Linked DNA regions of Homo sapiens: all the other regions are linked to region 4. The links are contacts of gene promoters, found by promoter capture Hi-C in blood cells and fetal thymus (Javierre and others, 2016). All regions are on one chromosome and are shown on one strand. Each heading gives the region's core, a stretch centred on a gene start or on the middle of the fragment in contact. The rest is flanking DNA. Distances are from core to core; before and after follow the strand shown.

Region 1 (5,711 bases), core at 2,035-4,534, 710 kb after region 4:
AATATTTATCAACCTTTGTGAGGATGTTTGTTTTTAAGTTTTACTTTCTTTTTGAACTTGTGTCTTTTTCCTATTAATACAAAAGGCCCAGTACACCCTCCCCTTACTCTGGCTTGCGCTCCCCACCTGAGACACCCTTCCTCACAGCCTGTCTTCTCAGTCTCTCTTTAAACCAAGAAGTTGCCAAACTTCATTCCTTATAGTTTTATTTATTTGCTTGTTTCACAAATATAAAATATTTTTAAACCAATTTGGTTTTTTTTTTTTTTGAGACAGAGTCCTGCTGTATCACCCAGGCTGAAGTGCAGTGGCGTCATCTCGGCTCACTGCAGCCTCCACCTCCCAGGTTCAAGTGATTCTCATGCCTCAGCCTCCAGAGTAGCTGGGACTACAAGCACATGCTACCATGCCCAGCTAATTTTTGAATTTTTTTTTTTAGGAGAGACAGGGTTTCACCATATTGGCCAGGCTCGTCTTGAACTCCTGGCCTCAAGCGATCCTCCTGCCTCAGCCTCCCAAAATGCTGGAATTACAGGCGTGAGCCACCACACCTGGCCTAAATCATTTTTTATTTTAAATAAAACTGCACATTTCCCCTCCACATCATCCACACTTACCTCCACCCTCCAGAGATTCCAGTAGGCTTGCCCTCCAGAAAGTCACTGAACTATTCTGGAAGGTTGCTGCATGGCCTTACTAAGCCATGTGCATCCTGTCTGCTTCCTTTGTCCAAGATCTCCTGGAGACAGCCCACTGTTGCGAGTTATTATCAGGGCAGGAGATAGGCCATCACTTCCCAAGAATGTCCTGCCAGGATCTGAGCCACTGAACCTTATTCTGGGGCATGCTCCTCTGCCTTTGACTGGGCTTTCAGCCTCCCTAAAGGACTCATAGAGGAATTAAGAAAGGGAGATCTGGGAAGTTCCTTGAGCCTCACACAATCCAGATATACTACATTGTCATCTCCACAAAAAGAGACTGTCTGGTTCATTCACAAATATATATTCAGCCCCTAGTTCTATGCTACACATGGTGGTGTTCAAATATTTGTTTAGTAAACAGTCAAGTAAATATACCCCAGAACTCTGAGATGAACTAACATCTAGTACACATTTCTTGGGATTACTAGGAAATAGAAATTATCTTCCACTGTTCTTTCTTTTTTTTGACACGGAGTCTCGCTATGTCACCAGGCTGGAGTGCTGTGGTGCAATCTCGGTTCACTGCAACCTCCGCCTCCTGGGTTCAAGCAATTCTCCTGCCTCAGCCTCCCAAGTAGCTGGGACTAAAGGTGCGTGCCACCATGCCCAGCTAATTTTTGTATTTTTAGTAGAGACGGGGTTTCACCATGTTGGCCAGGATGGTCTCGATCTCTTTGACTTCATGATCTGCCCACCTCGGCCTCCCAAAGTGCTGGGATTATAGGCATGAACCACCATGCCCAGCCTGTTCTTTTGTTAATTTGGGGGCAGTGACGGTTGCCACTAAACCTGACCAATATCACTGGGTTTGAGATGGCGTGAGCTCTAGACTAAACTTAAATTTTAAGCTGGTTAATCAAGTTGTTTGGTTAAGCAATTTATTCGTTTCCCAGAATTGTCTTTCTTTCCTTAATGCAAACATTCTTTGTGCTATCTTAGTTTTGTTAAGCTATTTATTATAGGATCAAGTATTCTACCACTACCAAGTATACAACCAAATATTACAGTTTTTCCAACACAGCATAATTATAAATTGTCATGCCTGGATAAACTAATTGCTTAAGGAGACTCTAACCCAGTGATTCTGCTAAAGTATAACACTCAGTGACCTTCCACATAATACACATGCAGCTGAATATTATCTTAGAGCCACTTGATAATGGGCATATTTAATTTTTGTGATTTCCTCATAGGAGCTTCACCAAGACTACAAATTCAACCAAATCACAATGTCATAAAACTTTAAATTCTTGGGAAACATTTTTAAACAAATCAAGTTTCCTTTGGTAAGAAACCTGAATATTGAAATGTGATGTTTTTGAAATGACATTTATAAAATGGCATAAACCCAGGCAGACTCATAAAACAAATTAAAGCTAAAAAGAATACAGGCAAATACAATAAATATAAAAAATGTATTGGGCAATATTTACTAGTATCCAAAGCCTATATTTTTCTCTATCCCCAATTCAGTTTCAGAGATGCCAGTTTTCTCTTTGTTTTGCTAATAAAAAATATTCCTTGATTTGTCCAAATTCTAAATTCTATGGCATACATACACAAATTTATGTGTTCACCTTTTGTGTATATTTTGAGTGCCAGCTACTTAAATGAACATGGCATGAAACATTTTAAAATTTTTCTTCTATTATTGCTCTTCTCTAAATATGCCTTCTTAAAGTTCCAATTTCTATAGAATAGATTTTCTTAATGTGAACTGTATCTCTCCTAGTGCAGCCGTAGGTTTTTCCAAACACAAAGTAGACTTGGGTGGCCAAAAATGGATACTGCACTGACTCTAATACATAAAAATGCTGTGATTACAGGGAACTGCTACATTATTACTCCTAATAGATGGACTTTGTGATCTTTTCCATTATTTGCATTCACAGCCTCACCTGGTTCCCCTTTCTAAGTCACATATTTCCTAGAAAGAGAAAGTGACAAATGATGATATGACTACAGTATTTGCAGAAAGGTAAATCAATCACCACAGTATAGATCATATGAAATGTTTATGGGAAAAATTAATATTAAATACTTCCTAAGGCCAAGAATTGTAAAGAATACTTTCACATAATATTATCTTATTTAATTTAATATCCTATTTATTTTAGTATTATTTTATTTCATTCTCATCCTAATGCTGTCAGTAAGAAAATCCTCTAATTCTCCAGGGGCGTACCTTTTCCATTCTCTGTACAAGGTTCTCCAATTCTGTAATTTGACTGTGTTTTTCTTCAAGTTTTTCAGCAACTTGATTCAGATTTTCAACATGTTGTTTCAATTTCTGTTCTTTTTCAAGCTTGTTAACCTATGGTCAGAGAATCAGTTGTGTTGTGAAAACTCTGTTTTTCTTAAACCTATACACATATTACCTCTTTCTATAATTTTCTAATTAGCCAAAAAAATTCAGAATTCATACTTGTTTAGAATTACTCTTTTGATTTCAGTGTTTACTTCAAAATAACCCTGATAGACTACAACAACATTAAATAGAGAATTAATAATGTATAAATATTCTTCCTAGAATGTTTCCATTTGTTACCATAAAGCATACTTCCTGAACAGGTATAAGAGAGAAAGATGCTAATTTAACGAAAGCAACATTTTTGACTTTTTCTCAACAATTATTATCCAGAACAAAAAAAACCTTACATGTTCAATTAAAACACGTTTTATGTTTAATTAGAAAGTGTCATAAAAGCAGAATAACTCCTCAGTGTGTCATGGTGCTACTTCATAGGCATAGAGCAGGGGTTGTTCTGAACCATCATAGGAGAGAAGACTCCATCTAGCAGGCAGTAAGCTACAGTGGGACTGTGTCGACTAACTTGTTACTCTTCTGTGTGTGTATTTAACAAAGCTTGACATTTCACAGGGAAAAATAAGTGTCTGGCTTCCCTTGTAAATACCAAGTGGGCCTTCCAGTCAGGTCACTCCAGGCTGGTGCCGAGCCCACATTACAGGGATGCACACTTCCCGTCCCCACAAGCGCCCCCATAGCATAGCACCCTCATCCGCTTCCCGCTTATGTTCTTCATCTGCACCCAGCATGCATGTGAGTTTGCAACCATCACTACCACAGCCTGATGCATGAAAGGGTGTCACCTAGGCAGTGAATTTCCTACTGTACTCCCCTGAGGACCTTCTTAGAGCCTGAGCTGACAGACACCTGGGTGCCCCAAACTATGATGAATGAACTTTCCTATTAGCTGTTTTATAGTTTTAATTTTGGCAAACACACACACACAGGCATACACACACTTTTTTGACTCCTCCAGTTCTAGAATATATTTTTCAGACAGATTTTATTGGTCCTAGTATATATACTTCAGATTTAAAAACAAATGAACAAAAAAGAATATGTTTGAGTGTCTGTACATGATTTTTATTTTTAAAATTTATACATATTTACATATTAAAATATAAAAGCATCTAAATTTATATTTTAAAAAATATATAACTATATTATTTATATAGATAAATATATTTATTTATATAGATATTATATATTTATTTATTATATTAGATATTATAATTATATAGATAAATATATATAATTATTTATATAGATAAATATATATCTATATATTTTTAAAAAATATATAGTTATATATATTTAAAAATATATAGTTATATATTTTTAAATAATATATAAAAATATAAATATATAAAATATATAACTTTATATATTATTTAAAAATATATAGATACATATTTTGTTTTCTGTTTTTTTAAATCCGAAGTATCTATCCTAAGACCAAAACAATTTTGAAAGCATGTGTCTAGCCCAACTCTTTCATTCTAGAGACAAGGACACCCAAATCCAGAGAGGAAGAATGGCTCAGTCTGGGCCATCTAGCGAGTCAACGGCAGAGCCCGAAGAGAAGTTACCAGCCCAGCTCCGCAGAGCCAGTCCAGATTTCCAGGCAGGGTGGCACTGCCTCCCTCCCACCTGTGCTCATGGGGGCTCTGGGCAAGAACTGCAACACAGCAGCTCAGCAACATCTGGGGTGTCCGGCTAAGCAGGGGTGAGAGAAATTGGCAAAAGAGACAAGCACACCGCTTCTTTCCCAAGTCTTTTGCCAAGTCACTTGGCCATTGCTTGTTTCATTTCTAACTCTTCTAGAAAGATGAACTTCAACAGCTCAGGGTGGGGGCTAGTTCTCCAATAGACAAGCTGCATGTTTGGTACCTGGAGTAATTGTTTACTGTCCTCCTGCTTCTTTCTCACTTCTTCAGATTGCGTTTGGTAGTTTTCAAATAATCTCTGGGCCACGTTTCTCAGAGCTGCTGCTCCTGCTTCTCTGGAGGCTTGCAGCTAGAAAAAAGGTCACTATGCATGTTCTGACATTTACAACAAAAAGTGTTAAAGGCAGAACAGTTTGATGGGCAATTAAGAACACCAAAGGTATAACTATACCATTTACAGCCTCATAGACAATGGATACGAGAGAAGACACTGTTATTTGGTAAGAGGAAAATGTAAAATGAGAAACTCCCTATTTAGAGGGGCTGTTGAACAGGCAGATTTGCCATAGTCAAACCAAACCAGAGCTCTGTGCATAGTAACGTCCTGCAGTGATAGTCCTCACTGTTCACATAACTCCATGGTGCTCTGTCAGCTTATACACTTATTTGCAAGCCTTTTATCATTAATGTCCATAACACTATTAAAAAGTGTATCTTCCTGAAATAGAAGTGGGACAAGGTTAAAGTATTGAGGACAATAATGCTAAAATGTTATGAATCTTTCCAGGATTTAACCTAAGGAAACAATCAAGGATGACTATAAAGACTTCCCTACCAAGATATTCATTGCAGGACTGCATATAAAATAAACCCCTAAAGAGAAAAATCAAAAGCATTCAGCAATAGACAAATGTAAAAATATTGTGACATTTGACTATGAAGGCTATAATTAATATTTATTAAATATGAACACACTTTTAAAAAGGTATTGTGGATTGTGGTAAGAACAATTAACATGAGATGTACTAAGTGTAC
Region 2 (5,325 bases), core at 1,460-3,959, 730 kb after region 4:
CAAATGTTCATAATTGCCAAACACTGCAAACAAGTCAAATGTTCACCAACAGGTGAATACAACTCCTCATTAAGAAGGAATGGACCAGGCATGGTGGCTCACACCTGTAATCCCAGCACTTTGGGAGGCCGAGGCGAGCTGATCACCTGAGGTCAGGAGATCGAGAGCAGACTGGCCAACATGGCGAAACCCCATCTCTACTAAAAATACAAAAATTAGCCAGTTGTGGCGGTGCACGTGCGTAATCACAGCTACTCAGGAGGCTGAGGCACAAGAATCGCTTGAACCTGGGAGGCAGAGGTTGCAATGAGCTGAAATTGTGCCACTGCACTCCAGCCTGGGTGACAGAGTGAGACTCTGTTTCAAAAAAAAAAAAGGAATGTATTACGGATACACCCAACAACATAGATAAGTGTCAAATGCATCATGCTAACTGAAACAGCCAAATTCAAGGAGCTACATATTCTATGGTTCCATTTGACATTCTAGAAAAGTAAAAACTGTAGGAATCAAAAGGGATAGTGGTTACTTGGGACTGGCAGTGGGGGACAGGTTAACTACAAAAGGAACACATAGGACTTTGGAGTGGGGGAATATATCTTGTTAGTGATCATGGTTCTATGACTATAACAATTTCCAAAAACTTACAATAGTCTATACTGAAAAAGATGAATTTGTACATGTTATTTAAAAAATAGTAACCTGGCAGGATCTAAAAAAAGCAATGCACAACTGAGATTTCAAAATCCAAGAACCTTCACTGATTTTATCAGAAGTAACTGGAAGCCAAAATTAATTGGATTTGTTTTTCTTCATTCAAATTCTTGACCCCCAAAAGAGTGTAAATGATTATATATATACATACACACACACACACACACACACACACACATATATATATATAGAGAGAGAGAGATACATAGATAGAGAGCAATGGAATCAGGGTTGTTAAAAACAACAGGCAACTGGGCTGCTGATTCTAGCTCACGCTACATGACTAGTCAATTAAACTTAGCATTCAGTATGACAGAAACAAGGAAAGCCTTTTAAACATTTTTAAAAACTTAATCATAAGCACTGTTTATTAAAGGTGATAAAGTAGAAGGAAATATACAATAATACATAAGAAATATAAGAATATTTCCAACAAGCTTTAAATCTAATTTGTGAACCTAGAACTTCTTTTCTCATCTACCCATTCCTTTTCTAATAGCTTTCTAGATGCACAATATGTTTTCATTCTTCATATTTGTCCATCTGCACATACACTGTTGGATCGATGATGAAAATATCTACTTATTCAGGGCCTGAAACAGCCAGGACCCTCCCCTCCCCTCCCCTCCCCTCCCTTCCCCTCCCCTCCCCTCGCCTTCCCTTCCCTTCCCTCCTTCCTTTCTTTCTTTCTTTCTTTTTTTTTTTTTGTTTCAGACATAGTCTCACTCTGTCACCCAGGGTGGAGTGCAGTGGCTCAATCTCAGCTCACCGCAACCTCCACATCCCAGGTTCAAGCAATTCTCCTGCCTCAGCCTCCCGAGTAGCTGGGACTACAGGCATGTGTCACCACACTCGGCTAATTTTTGTATTTTTAGTAGAGATGGGGTTTTACCATGTTGCCTATGGCTGGTCTCAAACTCCTGACCTCAGGCGATCCACCCGCCTCAGCTTCCCAAAGTGCTGGGATTACAGGTGTGAGCCACCATGCCGGGCCATGACCCTACTTTTTATCAACACCATCGCCCACCCTCCCACACCATGAAGACGTTTGACTTATCCAAGAGCAGCATCCTACCAAAATCCAGGTGTTTATAGAAAGATAGAAGAGTCAGAGGCAGCTTCCCACTTTGGGTAAAACTAAGTTCCTTGTATCAGATCACAACAATGTAAGTGACCTAATCAAAATAAATAGCAGGTGCTTACAGCTCAATACTAATCAAGCCTTCTTTCTCTTGATAAACCAACATAGCTTGGTGAATGTCTCTGCCCTGATCCTGATCCCTGGAGTATATGAAAGTGAGAATGATGAAGGTGGATTCCTGTAGATGGTAAATACCTCTTAGGAGATACTTGCTATAAAATCGTGAGTATAAGGCTAGAAAAAAAATGCATTTGTTTTAGAATTTTAAAAATCCTTACCAAGGAAACAAAGGTGTATTACCAAACAAGATTGATTACTCCATCCAATCACAAACAGATCATCAAAACAGTAGTAGTATTCTCATCTAGGAGTTTTAGGAAGTTGTTTGACATTTCAAGCAGAAAAAAATGAGTTGCAAATGAAGACATTCAGCTTTGGAAAACTATATTATTTAACCTACATTATCTTCTTTTCAAATTGTAGATGTTAAAAAAAATAGTTTGCATTCTAAATTGCCAATAAAATAGACTTCAAAAGTTGGCCACAGTGGTTCACATCTATAATCCCAGCACTTTGGGAGGCCAAGGTGGAAGGATTGCTTAAGGCTGGGAATTGGAGGCCAGTCTGGGTAACACAGTGATGCCCCATCTATGAAAAAAAAAATTTAATTAGCTAGGCATGGTGCCACATTCCTGTAGTCCCAGCCATACAGGAGGCTGAGTGAGGCAGGAGGATCACTTGAGCCCAGGAGTTTGAGGCTTCAGTGAGCTAGGATCCTGACACTGCACTCCAGCGTCAGTGACAGAATACAACCCCGTCTTGAAAAACACACACACACACAAACAGACCTCAAGTTATTTTGATGCTCTTTTTTTTCCCCCAAAAGGAATTTGCAATTTGAGTAGTAACTTAAGGGCACTCAGAGAGACACTGTCTTCTTTTTAGGCTCACAGAACTGGCTAGATTTTTATAAAAGGATTTCTGTTCTACTAGAGAAATCTTCCTAAGAGGATATTTAAGCATAAGTTGTGAAGCATGACCCGCCCCCACCACTCAAAATGCATTTGCCATAATAGTTAGCACAAAGCAAGGTCAGTGGAGATATATAAGAAAACAATTCTGGCTGGGAACTGCTATTCCAGTTTCCTGATTCCTAACAGAGGTATACCAAAAGTCAATGTTCTTGCAAAGTTAAGAAGTTCTTTTTTGTTTGTTTGTTTGTTTGTTTGTTTGAGGCAGAGTCTCGCTCTGTTGCCCAGGCTGGAGTGCAGTGGTGACATCTCAGCTCACTGCAACCTCCACCTCCCAGGTTCAAGCAATTCTCCTACCTCAGCCTCCCCAGGAGCTGGGATTACAGGCGCATGCCACCACACACAGCTAATTTTTAAAAAATCATTTTTAGTAGAGAAGGGGTTTTACCATGTTGGCCAGGCTGGTCTCCAACTCCTGACCTCAGGTGATCCACCTGCCTCAGCCTCCCAAATTGCTGGGGAAAATTAGAAGTTCAGACGAGTCTTGCTCTGTTGCCCAGGCTGGAGTGCAATGGTGCAATCTTGGCTCACTGCAACCTCTGCCTCCCTGGTTCAAGCGATTCTCCTGCCTCAGCCTCCCGAGTAGCTGGAATTACAGGCGCATGCCACCACGCCCAGGTGATTTTTGTATTTTTAGTAGAGATGGGGTTTCACCATGTTGGTCAGGCTGGTCTCGAATTCCTGACCTCGTGATCTGCCCAGCTCAGCCTCCCAAAATGCTGGGATTATAGGTGTGAGCCACTGTGCCCAGCCAAGGTAAGAAGTTCTTAACATTGGTTTGTTGGAGAGTTACACACAGAAAACACCACTGCTTAATAGGAACCTGGATGTTTAACTCTTGGCATTCATATTTAAAATTATCATAGAAGAGAGTCAAAGCACCAAATAAGAGGTTGGCTCATATCAGTTATTCTCACATTATGCTACCATAGAAGCTGCACCAATGTATCTGTTTTACCATGCAAAAGTATTTGCAGAAAGGTCTACCAAATGGTGAACAAAATGCGGCATAGCCATGGCATGGAATAAATCCTAGTTAAGCAATAAAAAGGAACCAACTACAGCTACATGTGACAACCTGAATAAACCTCAACAGCTATTCTAACTGAAAAAAGCCAGATGCTAAAGACTATATATTGTACGATTCCATCTGTATGAAATGTCCAGAAAAGGCAGATCTAAACAGACAAAATAGATTAGGGGTTGCTGGGGCTGGGGTAAGAACGGTGAGTGATTGCAAACAGGCCCCAGGGATATTTGGGGAATGATGAAGTGATCTAAAATTGGATTGTGCTAATGGTTGCACCATTCAGTAAATTTACCAAAAATCATTGAATTATACACTTGGATGTATTTTATGGTATGTAAATTATACCTCCAATAAAGCTTTTTTAAAAAAAAATACAGAAGGAAAAGTAAGAATAACTTGAATAAAGATGCTGTTTTCCTCTGGGGGTGGGGTGAATGTAACTGTAGTCTTATTTTTCTAATTTATAGGAAAAAATATAATTTAATGGATAGATGTTTTTCAGTTTTAAATTTTTTGTTCATTAATTTTTGTCTCTAGATTATTGTCATCCATACTACAAGTTTAGTTTTTATTTAATTTGCATGAAATTGATACTTAGCTATTTTAAGTTAATATTTCATAACATTAAGCCTGGAACACATGATTCCTAAGTTCTTCCCCAACCTAAACAAAAGAGAAAACCACTGAGCAGAATAACATGCAAGCTCCTCTATCATTTTTAGACTTGACTTTTTAAATCAGTGAAAGGAAATATGTGATTTGAAACTAATCTAGTTTTAGTCACTGTCGAAATTGAATGGATCATTTATGTGGTCTGTAAATCTATGGCCTTGACTTGGGGTGGCCTGGAGGACTCCAATGTAGTAAATTCCAGGAGGATAGAAATGTGTCTGATTTACACAGGGCTGTGTTTGGCCCAGACCCTACTTCCCCTCCCATCTGGTTCTCCCACACAGAACACAGTGTCCTCAATAAATATTGTTTCAATGAATACATGAATAGGCCCACAAATTTACAGATGTACCAAATAGTTTCTAAAACAATGTACACACACACACACACACTCTCTCTCTCTCTCTCTCTCTCTCTCTCTCATTTTCCAAACCTATATAAATGGCTGTTTTTGTGCTTAGTAAATGACATTCATTTAAACGTGTTAGTAAATTCATGGTAAAATTTTGCCATTATGAAATGTTTTCAATCAATAAATAGCCATATAATTTTGATGTAAATATCTCAGTTCTAAAGATGAGAAACTACTATTTTAAAAGACTTTTACATTCCCATCAAAATCTTCAGTTATTTCCCCTTTCAGTCATTATTCCAAGCAAATAAACACCTCATTTTTCAGGTTTGTCTAAATCTAGCTTACATTTTTTAGCTTTGGCCAAAATTTGGATTACAACTCA
Region 3 (5,128 bases), core at 2,351-4,850, 610 kb after region 4:
TGTGTGTGTGCATGTATGTAAACATGGAAGAAGAGATAGAAACATATGAACTCTATAATAGAGGGAAAATTTCATTTTAAAACGTTTAGGGAAAAAGCATAAGACTTTATTTTAGTCCTCTTTCTGGCTTCGTTCTAGCACATAAATTTATTTTCAATCATATTGAACTTGGGGTCAACTTAATCTGTTTTCTTCTTGTTTCTCTCCTTAACTTGCTCAGAAAAAAAAATGAGATTATGTATTAAATCTGACCTGAGGGATATACCAGAACAATAATAATTAGTAAAAGCAAAATCAGCTTGTATTATATTTGCCCAATCTAACTTAGGCAAGGTAATCAGAGCCTGAGAAGTTCATTAAATGAATTATTCAGTTCTTATGGTCTATTATTCAAAATATATTATTTTCATAAACAAAATGGACTGTTGATAAGTGTTCCTGTACATATATAAATATTAAAAATACAAAATGAAATTAGATTTTTCAGAGGGAAAGAGAAACTAGTCATGTCTTAGTGCCTTTGAAAAAGTAGACACGTTTTCTAATATTAAGAGGTGCCACATATTGACTCAGGTGCCTCCTTGGAGTAACTTAAGCCTCTAATTTTCTGGAACTTTCTCCCAAATGCTGCAAAATATAGGAGCAATGCAACCTGTTTGCAAATTTATTAATTCTTTAAGCGAACTAAAGATAGATATCACAGCTAACTGTATGGAAACTGTAATTCCCAGTCCCTATATCTATCCCTTTCTCACTCAATCTTTGATCTTAATCTTCCTAAGGTTTGTAATACCTATTCTCAAATACTGCCTCTCAAGGTTTGGAAGTAAACGCTTCTATTAGGAAGAACCTAGGAAACAACACTGCAAAACATACGTTACAGGAAAAAATTGCTGTAACGAAAATATTCTCATATTTATAACCGAGGGTTAAAACGTAATAAAACAGACTTAAATAAATAGGCCATCATGTTTGAAAAGTCTATTCTTTAATCTTCAGTTGGAAGCAAGATGCTAGTTGATGAAGCCTGCATAGCAGTAATAGTAATAAGATGAAATGAGCAACTTTGGGTTTGCTTTTCTCGTGTAAAGTCACTAGGCCATCATCAGATGCTACTTATTTTGAAATTGGCCTATACAATCTCCCCAGATCTCCTTTGCTGTATTTTATTTTTTCACTTACCTACTAGGAAAACCAAGAAGACAAAAGTAAAATGCACCCAGCAAGTACTCATTAGTATTGTTTCTGAACACGCTTAATTTGGGTGCCCTCAGGAATGTACGTACTTGATGAGAATTTATGCATCTGTGATTACAGAGCAGCTTATATTTAGATAAAGGTGAGGAGGAGATGAAAAATGGATAAAGACAGAACATACTGATCACTAGGTGCAGGTACACCAACCTGCAGGCTTTGTGTCCTTTGTAGACTTGGAGAAACCTTGCTGGGCATCTGTTTCCTGTGCAAGCTCTGAGGAAGTCATAAAATTCTACATTGCGGTTTTCTTTGGAAAGTGATTAAATGATAATAACTGAGTTGCTTTGAAGATGAATTTCCCTCAAATTATATTGTTATTCTGCTTCCCAGCAGATCTTCTTATCAAGTGTATTTTCCATGGTTCTGATTCCTTACAGTTTTCACCCTTTCAAAGTTCACTTTGACTTTTAAGGTAGACTTATGCATGAGGCCAGGGACCCAGAAACCAGTTTCCCATTCTTCAGTTCTAGATGGTGTTAGATTCTAGTGATTTTAGTAAAACAAAGCCTTCAAGGTCTAAGTAGTCCAGAGCAGTGAGGTTGATTCTTAAAATCAATATCGTAAATATTGAGACACATGAAGGTATAAGCTTGGCAACTTGAGAACAGAGAACTAACTCAAAATAGAAAAGGAACAATTAAAATTCATAAATATTAACTATATGTTTAAAGAAAGATGTTCTGTTTGCATTGCAATATTTTATAACCAGTAGAATATTTTTGACTTATTTTTCAGGAATCATGTTTTCTAAAAGTGTGTAGACATTAAAATCGGAGGATTTAAACATAAAACTGCTTTCTAATTGGTGTTTTCCACAGTAAACATGCATTGTGCATAGTCACTTGATCCAAAAGATGAAAATAAGAAATCCAAGAATTAATGACATGCTTCAAGGAGCAAAATTTCTGCCTGTTGTAGGACATTATAAACATTAGGAAAAATGTTAAGTTGGTTAAAGCTGATGATGTTATTACAACAAAAGACCTGGTCACCATGTTAAACCTGACAATACCAATTTAATCTCTGGTATAATTTTTGTCTATCTGATTTTTTGCTTAAAACATTCATTAAGTGCCTACTATCTGTCAGGTCATATTAGGTACTTTAGTTGTAATTGTCAGTAAGATATAGTTCCTACTCTTAAAGAACTTAGAATCTAGTAAAATAGAGAGTTACATGAGCAGATAATTTTAATGTAACTTGATAAGTTTTCAGTTAGTGGTTTGAAGGCAGTATTATGGTAATAAAGAGGAAGATAAATTTAAGGAGGTTAAAACTGTAGAGAGATCAGTGAGGAGTGGCAAATACAAAAGGTCTGAAATTGTAAAGTTGGAGAAGATAAGTTATATTAATATTAAAGGAATAATTAGCGAGGGTGGGCATTAACCAGACATTGGGGGAAAGGAGAAATTATTATAAAGTCTAAATTTCTGGCTGTACTAAGGCAATAGATGGATAAATAGTGGTCCTCAAAATTGAAAATCAGGCATACAAAAGGAAAGGCAGGTTGGGGGAGGAAGAAGAACTGCATTTGAGGTACCTGTGGTTATTCAATTGCATACGTTCAAGAAAATGACTCTTGAAATCTAGACCTCTCAGGAGAGGTCAGGCTGGTGATAATGACTGGGAAATGCAGGCACACGGGTGATCTCCAAAATCTATGAGACCAAATGCCATCTGTCAAGGAGGTCCTGGAAAGAAGGAGGTGGAGTAACCATAAGAGAGGAATAATTATTTTCTTTATTTTCTGCAAGCACTACTCTGCTTTGGCTAATAAAGACATTTAAGTTCTGGAAGGACTTGGGGAAAATTTAAGGTTATATATCTAATTATATATATGTGTGTATATATATGTATTTATTATTAAAATCATTGTTGTTCAATTGAAGGACATAATAAATATGCCTGTAGCTTCTGTGGGGGCAATCACTAAGTAATGTTTCCTTCATGCATAATTCTTTTCACCTATGTTCTCTCCCAACCCACCCTGTGAAAAATGACAAGTCGTGTCTCAATCAGGAATATGTTCTAGTACTAGAGATTGGGAACCCAACAGAAAGTGATTGAATCAAGTGATTCTGGCTCATTAATATCATGCTCTAATAATTGATGTACAGCCAATGTTAATTTAAGTGCAAATTAACTCCCATTCTCTTCATTTTAATTAGTAGCTTTGTTCTAGCTCTGCTGTCACTAAATTGATAACACTTTTATCCTCAAGATCTACTTACCAAAGCATAACAAAATGTATCTTGATGTTCTAAAAAAATTACAGAATAATTGTCTAGTAATGAGTATTTGTGTAGATTCCAATAATATGCAAAATATTGTCAAGAAATTGACTTGAAAAACATGTCAAATGATTGACCAAATTTAGGGAAAGTTACCTTGTCTCTTCTTCTGCCTCTTCTCTTCCCCTTCTTCATCTCCATGTTAATATTTTTTTTCTAGTCCACTGTTTGAAAAAGTTTGGGGAATATTCTATTACATTTATAAAAATTCTTTATACCACCATCTGGGTGCTTCACACTCTCCATCACAAGTATTTCTGACTATTTAATAATTAGTACGAGAACATATTGTATGCCTACTTGTTCGATTGAGATATTCTCTGTGTTCTTTCTGGATTTCAGGTGTATAACACTTTCTTTGTTATGGATCCATCATTTGAGACATCTAGTTCTGAACAAATATGTTTTTCATAAAAGCTCCCTATAATATGGCAATATCTGAGTTATTTCTGTTGTGGAGATCATAGATGGAGAACATTTAAATGACTCTTACGAGTTAGACACATACCTACAAATATTCCAGGCAAGATTTCTGATACAATCTTGTGGTCTTTAATTTTTTTTCTTAAGCATTTGGCTACTTATATTATTCACTAAACTAGTATCCAACTGCTGATCTTCTATGTTATCTCCATCTGTAAATTGATCAACCTTTCACATTATTTTGGGAAATATCAATGTGTTTTTTCTTGTGTTTTGTTAGTAAGTAAGCTAACATTATAGGGACAAATCTCTTGTTTTATAAAGAGTATATGGACTTATATGAGACAGTAATAATAAATATGGAAAAAGGATACAAATATTGCTGGAAAAGAAGTCCTCCTACAACTTATGATGAACACTTGTGAATCATTTTAAATAATGACTATTTGACATGGTTATCAAGGGTGAAAATATGCATTGATGTTAAACCCTTGACTAAAGACTGACAATAAGCAACCCCGTTTTCAGCTTCAAATTATTATCAGCAAAAGCATACATTCATTGAATATAACAGGGTTCAAGTCTAGGCTATTGTGTAAGAAAATCAAAAGTTTTAGTAATTTTGACTTTAATGGGAACAGTTTTGCAAATTCTGTTTTTTCCTACTACTGCTTTCTCTTTGGAATAAGTTTTTACATATAACTTGCTAAGATTACAAGACCTTTGTGCCATAAATAAACACAGCATGGAAAAGATGAAAGAGAGTTAAAGTAACAAACATTCTCCCATTGTAGCCATAATCTGATTCCAGTTTTAGGTAACCCAATTACCAAAATCAGGCCAAGGAATGGTTTCAAGGCACAACTGAACTAGGTAATGCAGGCAACAGTTAGGTCTTCTCCAAACCACAGGGTCCCAAGGACAAATAAATACAAGGGCAGAAAAGAAAAGGTTTCTTATCTACTAAGGTCCTATTTCTTTGTCCTGATGTACTATCTAGCACCCCCAGATGCTGAGAGTATACCTAAAATCCAACACTAATTAAGAAAAGTCTAAGAAGCAGACTGAATGGTGAGTATCTGTTTGCTTTTTTAGCAGCAAATATCACTTCATTACTCTGACTTTAAAATTACCCTGTACACATGGATCAGAAATGA
Region 4 (5,251 bases), core at 1,830-4,329:
TATGGTGAAACCCCATCTCTACTAAAAATACAAAAATTAGCCGGGCATGGTGGCAGGCACCTGTAGTCCCAGCTACTTGGGAGGCTGAAGAATCACTTGAACCCGAGAGGCGGAGGATGCACTGAGCCGAGATCGCACCACTGCACTCCAGCCTGGGCGACAGAGCTAGACTCCATCTCAAAAAAAATAAAATAAATTTAACATCAGAAAATTTACACAACATCCAAGAAAATGTTAAGTGGCCACAAATCCAAATGAGCACTACAACAATCTGACTTCTTGAAATAACTTTTCCAACTACAAGGAAAACCAACAAACAAAAAGCTCTGCAATACCCAAAGTCAGTCTGAACAAAAACATCATCCCAAAACCAAACAAACCATATCCCAGGAGAACTGCCACAGAGTAAAATTCAAAGTTTAAGATGTTCTACTGAGAATAGCCTAGTCATCTATTCCTCAAGGAGTTCAATCACAGATACAGAATAATCTTGTCAAATATAATTGCCTACAAGACATCAGCACATAGTTCACAGAAGGTTATGCAGACAGCCTGCTTAGAAAGAAAACAGAATGCTCTGTTAATGAAAGAATACTAGAAAACGAACAATTGTGAACGGCACTAAATGAAACTAATGAACTTGAGAAAACTAATCTTTTTTTAACCACAATAACCTTTTTTTTTAATCAGAAGAAATTGTCCCATTGAATGACAGCTGCCACTGGCACAGTCCCAGGGCAAGGATGCCAACAAAGGTTTTCTCTCAGCACCAGCTACCAAATCCTGGCCCCACAGCCTGAGGGAGGACCTGTGAAAGTGCTCACAATAACTTTCTTACCATTAAATCAAATATTTAATGATGAGGAAATACAAACCAAGACTATCACACTTTTTCTTTTTTTTCTTTAAAGAGATGGGGTTTCACTCTATTGCCCAGGCACAATCATAGGTCATTGCAGCCTCGAACTCCTGGACTCAAGAGATTCTCTCGCCCCAGCCCCGTAACTGGGACCACAGGTGATTACTACCTTCTTATGTTTAAAAGAAGTTCTCCATTTTATCATATGAGGTTTCAAGATGAGGGTCCAGATCAAGTGGAAGACTAAGTTCTATGAAACATCACTTTTATTTTTTAGTTGAGGTGAAGTGAACTTACTACAACTACTCATCCATATATAGCAACCATCAGGAATGTGTTCGTATTTACATGCTGCACCAGCAGTGATCACATTCTTGTGTGTGCATATGTATGTATATATGTGTATGTACATTTCTTTAACCTTTTCAATCTAGTTAAAAGTATTTTTAGTTCATAAGCATGGTATGTGTACAGACACATTTTCCCAGAGCTACTTGAAGAGGACAGGAAATCCTTTATAACATTATTACAATAGCTAAATGACAATTGTCTCCAATACCCATATACATTCCCTGAAAAATGCTTCAGTCAGTCCACAAACACGTACCTCCAAACTACTGAATACAAGTTTATATTATCTTCTATCAATAGCATGGCTTATTACAAAATTTAGTAAATGTGTATTAAGTCCACGGATGTCAATTGCCATAGGCACTTTCTTGAGCTTACTGGGTCACACAAACTGAAGACATCAGCAGCATGACCACGGGATTGCAAGATTACACTAAGGTGAAAAACCTTGAATCATTTAAAACAGGATGTCTCAACCTCAGCACAGGTGACAATTTGGGCCAGATCATTCTTTGTTGTGGCAGCTTTCCTTTGTATTATCGAATATGTAGCAGCATCTCTGGCCTCTACCCACTAGATGCCAGTATCACACCCTCCCCAGGTGTGAGAACCGAAAATGTCTCCAGACATTGACAAATGTTCCCTGGGGAGCAAATTTTGGTCTAGGAGTCTAAAAACTTAGTACAGTGTGTCAGTTTCAAAAGAGTATATTCTGCAATACCAAGAAGTTCCAAAAAAACTTCAGGCATTCCAAATAGCTGCTTTATACAAAACTTTCTTGGATGAAGTAAATGAAACCTTGTTACTGTAGATAGCTCATTCTTCCACATGTGCATGCTTAACACTTGTGATGATGAATCTGGGACAGGCTGGGACAGGAGCCAACAGTGACTGGGTTTTATAGTTTCGATGAATTACACCTCCTTTTAACCCTTCAGTGGACTAACCATCCCTGCCAGGCTAACCCTTTCTTCGCAAACCATCTTCCCCGACGCCTTCCACATAAGATGCCCTCCTGCGGGCCCTCACCTTTTGACACTGCCTCCCACCGCACTGGGGTCAACTCTCACCCAAGGGTTCCGCCACCTTCCACCACCAAACCAGCCTGTCCCTGCCACATGCCCCCCGGGCCCCAGCGCTCATCCTCTGCCCAGGCCCGCTCTTGACCCCTGACCCCGGCCTGACCCCGCCACCCCCTCCCCGCCCCCAGGGAGGTACCTGAAGTAGTAGACATCGCTCTTGCCAGCACTTAGCCCAGATTTTCGGATCACTTCCTCCTTCTTCCATCCGGGGGGGAGGGCCGGGCAATCCATCCTCTTCCCGCTCTCCGTGGCCCGGGGTCCCCTGGGCCCCGGCCCCGCGCTCCCCGACGGGAAAGGGACCGGCTCCCGCCGGGGGGCGCCGCCGCCACCGCTGCCGCCGCCGCCGCAGCCGCCGCCGTCGCCGCCAAGGCCGCTGCCGCCACTCGGGGGACGGCCGCGGCCCCGGCCCCGGCCCCGTCCCCGTCCCCGGCCACGGCCCCGGCCCCGGCCACGGCCACAGACGCCGCCGCCCCGGCCCGCCTGCTTCCACCGCCCCCGGCCACGGCCGCCGCCCCGAGCGCCTTCCCTGCGCACGCCGCTCACCGGGGACGGGGCGAGCGCGCTGCCCTGGCCCCCCTGCTCTATGGCGGAGTCGCCGCCAGCGCCGCTGCCGCCCGCCGCACTCTCCCCCTCCTCCTGCTCCGGGCAGCAGCGGCCTCCCCCCGGGTGCGCGCGCATCCAGCCCCCTCCCCAGCCGGCGCTGCGCTTCTTCCGTAACCGAGCCCTTGGAATCCCGGAGACCCGCCCCGCCCGCAGCGCGGCGCGCGGGGGACGCGCGCAAGCATCATAGAGCGGGCGCGCACAGAGCGGCCCTCCTGCCCGGGGCGTGGCCCCGGCCACCGCCTCTTAGGTCCTCCAAGCGCTATGGGCGGCCATCTTGTCTCCGCCTTCTCGGGGCCACGCCCCCTCCCGCGCTTTTCCGGCCCCCACTGGGCGCGCGGAGCTGGGAAGGTTGGTCGGGCTAGCCACCAGCTGGGGGTGTCATAGTGACTGTGGTTAGTTTGTTTCAAACGGGGTAACCTCCACCATTATGTGATTTTACCTATGTTTGCTTCCCAATTAATGAATAACAAGCAAAATAGATCTTATATTACATACCAACTCGGCTATTCATTTAAGGGGGTGATAGCCCCTTTTCCCGCCCCTCTGCACAAAGCTTGCAGGGGAGCTTATAATGAAGGAATGAAGCAAAGTGTCCCATTCGCTGAATACCAGTTCCCTCCTGAGCCTGGCTTCAGAGCCATTGACAGATTCTCCTGGAACCTTGTAAGGATGTAGGAAAGGAAATGATAACTTGGAATATGCCCATGAGTCAGATGGGGCTTACCTCTAGATTCTCCTTAGAATGACCAGAATCCCTAAATCCATCTAGAAATTTCCAGATGTCTTTGTCTAATACAAAAATCAGTGGCCTTTTATTTGGTAAATATTCCATTATGTTGAAAGTCCAGCCTAACTTACTGTCACAAGCCTTTAGGAAACTGTGTGGTATTCTTTTCGGTCTGCCAACTTGAATTTTAGAAATGCATATTTTCTATAAGTTGTCGAACACTTATAGAAGTGTGCTATTGATATTCAAGATAATATATTATGAAATATTTGGAAGATTGAAAAATGTAAAGCACATGTTATCAGCCTGATGATAAGCTATCTTGGGTTTCTATACTCATATGCCCTAAAAACTGAGGACCAAGTTTAACGTATAGAAAAAGTTGATTAATATAAAGCAACAAAAATCTAAAATTAATTTGGTTTATCTTTGCAGTATATGCAAACATTAACTCATACACACAAACTTGTCTGTCTCTAAACCTGACCTTAGTCTTCTTTTAATGTCCTTTAGTTGAAAGACACTAATTTGTGGTTTCCTACAAGAAATTTAGAAATGTGAATGTAAAAAATCATCAAGAAATGAGTTCTGAGGAGATCAGTACTGGAGACATTCATTTAGAAGTCATCTGTGGGCCGGGCGCGGTGGCTCACGCCTGTAATCCCAACACTTTGGGAGGCAGAGGCGGGCAGATCACCTGAGGTCAGGAGTTCAAGACCAGCCTGGCTAACACGATGAAACTCCGTCTCTACTAAAAATGCAGAAAATTGGCTGGGCGTGGTGGCGGGCGCCCGTAGTCCCAGCTGCTCCGGAGGCTGAGGCAGGAGAATGGCGTGAACCCGGGAGGCGGAGCTTGCAGTGAACTGGATCACGCCACTGCACTCCAGCCTGGCAGACAGAGCGAGACTCTGTCTCAAAAAAAAAAAAAGAAGTCATTTGTGGCCGGGCGCGGTGGCTTACTTCTGTAATCCCAGCACTTTGGGAGGCCGAGGCCGGCGGATCACGAGGTCTAGAGATAGAGACCATTCTGGCCAACATGGTCAAACCCCATCTCTATTAAAATACAAAAATTAGCTGGGCGTGCTGGCGTGCGCCTGTAATCCCAGCTACTCGGGAGGCTGAGGCAAGAGAATCGCTTGAACACGGGAGGCGGAGATTGCAGTGAGTCGAGATCCCGCTACTGCACTCCAGCCTGGCAACCGAGCGAGACTCCGTCTCAAAAAAAAAAAGTCATTTGTGAAAGTGACAGTTGAAGGAGGCCCTGGAAGTAAGTAAGCTCTCCAAGGAAGGGCTTGCGTGGTTAATAATAAAAGGAAAGAGGATCAAGAACTGAATCTTGAGGAATGCCAATACTTAAGGTTCCACTGAAGGAATAAAGGAAAAAAATGATATTAAAGTTTGTATGACATAAGAGAGTACTCTGATTTTCACACATAATTGAAAGTAAAGGGTAAACATGAGCAAAAATCTCAGTAGAAACGGTAATTGAGACAGGTAGTTGAGACAACAGATGGGAACAGGTATGCTTTTGGAAAATTCTACCTTTTCATGCTGTGCTAATAAGGCTGTAGATCAAATGATATATTGGATATAAAAGCATGCTTAAAGAAATAAATCACAGGATTTTCG

The links. Contacts are between HindIII fragments. The CHiCAGO score rates a contact against its expected background, and 5 or more counts as called.
Region 1: a fragment that was not itself captured here is called in contact with the fragment with the promoter of MBD2 in region 4 in 1 of 17 cell types (total CD4 T cells); the score reaches 6.0 in total CD4 T cells.
Region 2: a fragment that was not itself captured here is called in contact with the fragment with the promoter of MBD2 in region 4 in 2 of 17 cell types (M1 macrophages and M2 macrophages); the score reaches 10.7 in M1 macrophages.
Region 3: a fragment that was not itself captured here is called in contact with the fragment with the promoter of MBD2 in region 4 in 1 of 17 cell types (activated CD4 T cells); the score reaches 5.7 in activated CD4 T cells.

Annotation. Positions count from the first base shown.
Region 1 is chr18:54,931,934-54,937,644 of GRCh38, forward strand. CCDC68 (coiled-coil domain containing 68) reads right to left here. Exons shown (of 12, transcript NM_025214.3): 6 at 4,900-5,025; 7 at 2,887-3,015. Among named protein-coding and RNA genes, the nearest start is that of CCDC68, 25 kb to the right of the region's middle. The HindIII fragment of the contact is 561 bases long and covers 3,005-3,565 here.
Region 2 is chr18:54,952,649-54,957,973 of GRCh38, forward strand. The region is part of intron 1 of CCDC68 (coiled-coil domain containing 68); the gene reads right to left. It also overlaps the pseudogene MAP1LC3P. Among named protein-coding and RNA genes, the nearest start is that of CCDC68, 4.2 kb to the right of the region's middle. The HindIII fragment of the contact is 3,121 bases long and covers 1,150-4,270 here.
Region 3 is chr18:54,834,690-54,839,817 of GRCh38, forward strand. The region is part of intron 1 of RAB27B (RAB27B, member RAS oncogene family); the gene reads left to right. Among named protein-coding and RNA genes, the nearest start is that of RAB27B, 8.8 kb to the left of the region's middle. The HindIII fragment of the contact is 3,513 bases long and covers 1,845-5,128 here.
Region 4 is chr18:54,221,590-54,226,840 of GRCh38, forward strand. MBD2 (methyl-CpG binding domain protein 2) reads right to left here and starts at 3,080. Exons shown (of 7, transcript NM_003927.5): 1 at 2,429-3,080. The coding sequence starts at 2,970. It overlaps SNORA37 (small nucleolar RNA, H/ACA box 37), which reads right to left and starts at 823; the gene lies at 695-823. RefSeq lists a silencer at 2,781-3,170 and enhancers at 3,921-4,463, 4,464-5,004. The HindIII fragment of the contact is 9,949 bases long and covers 1-3,446 here.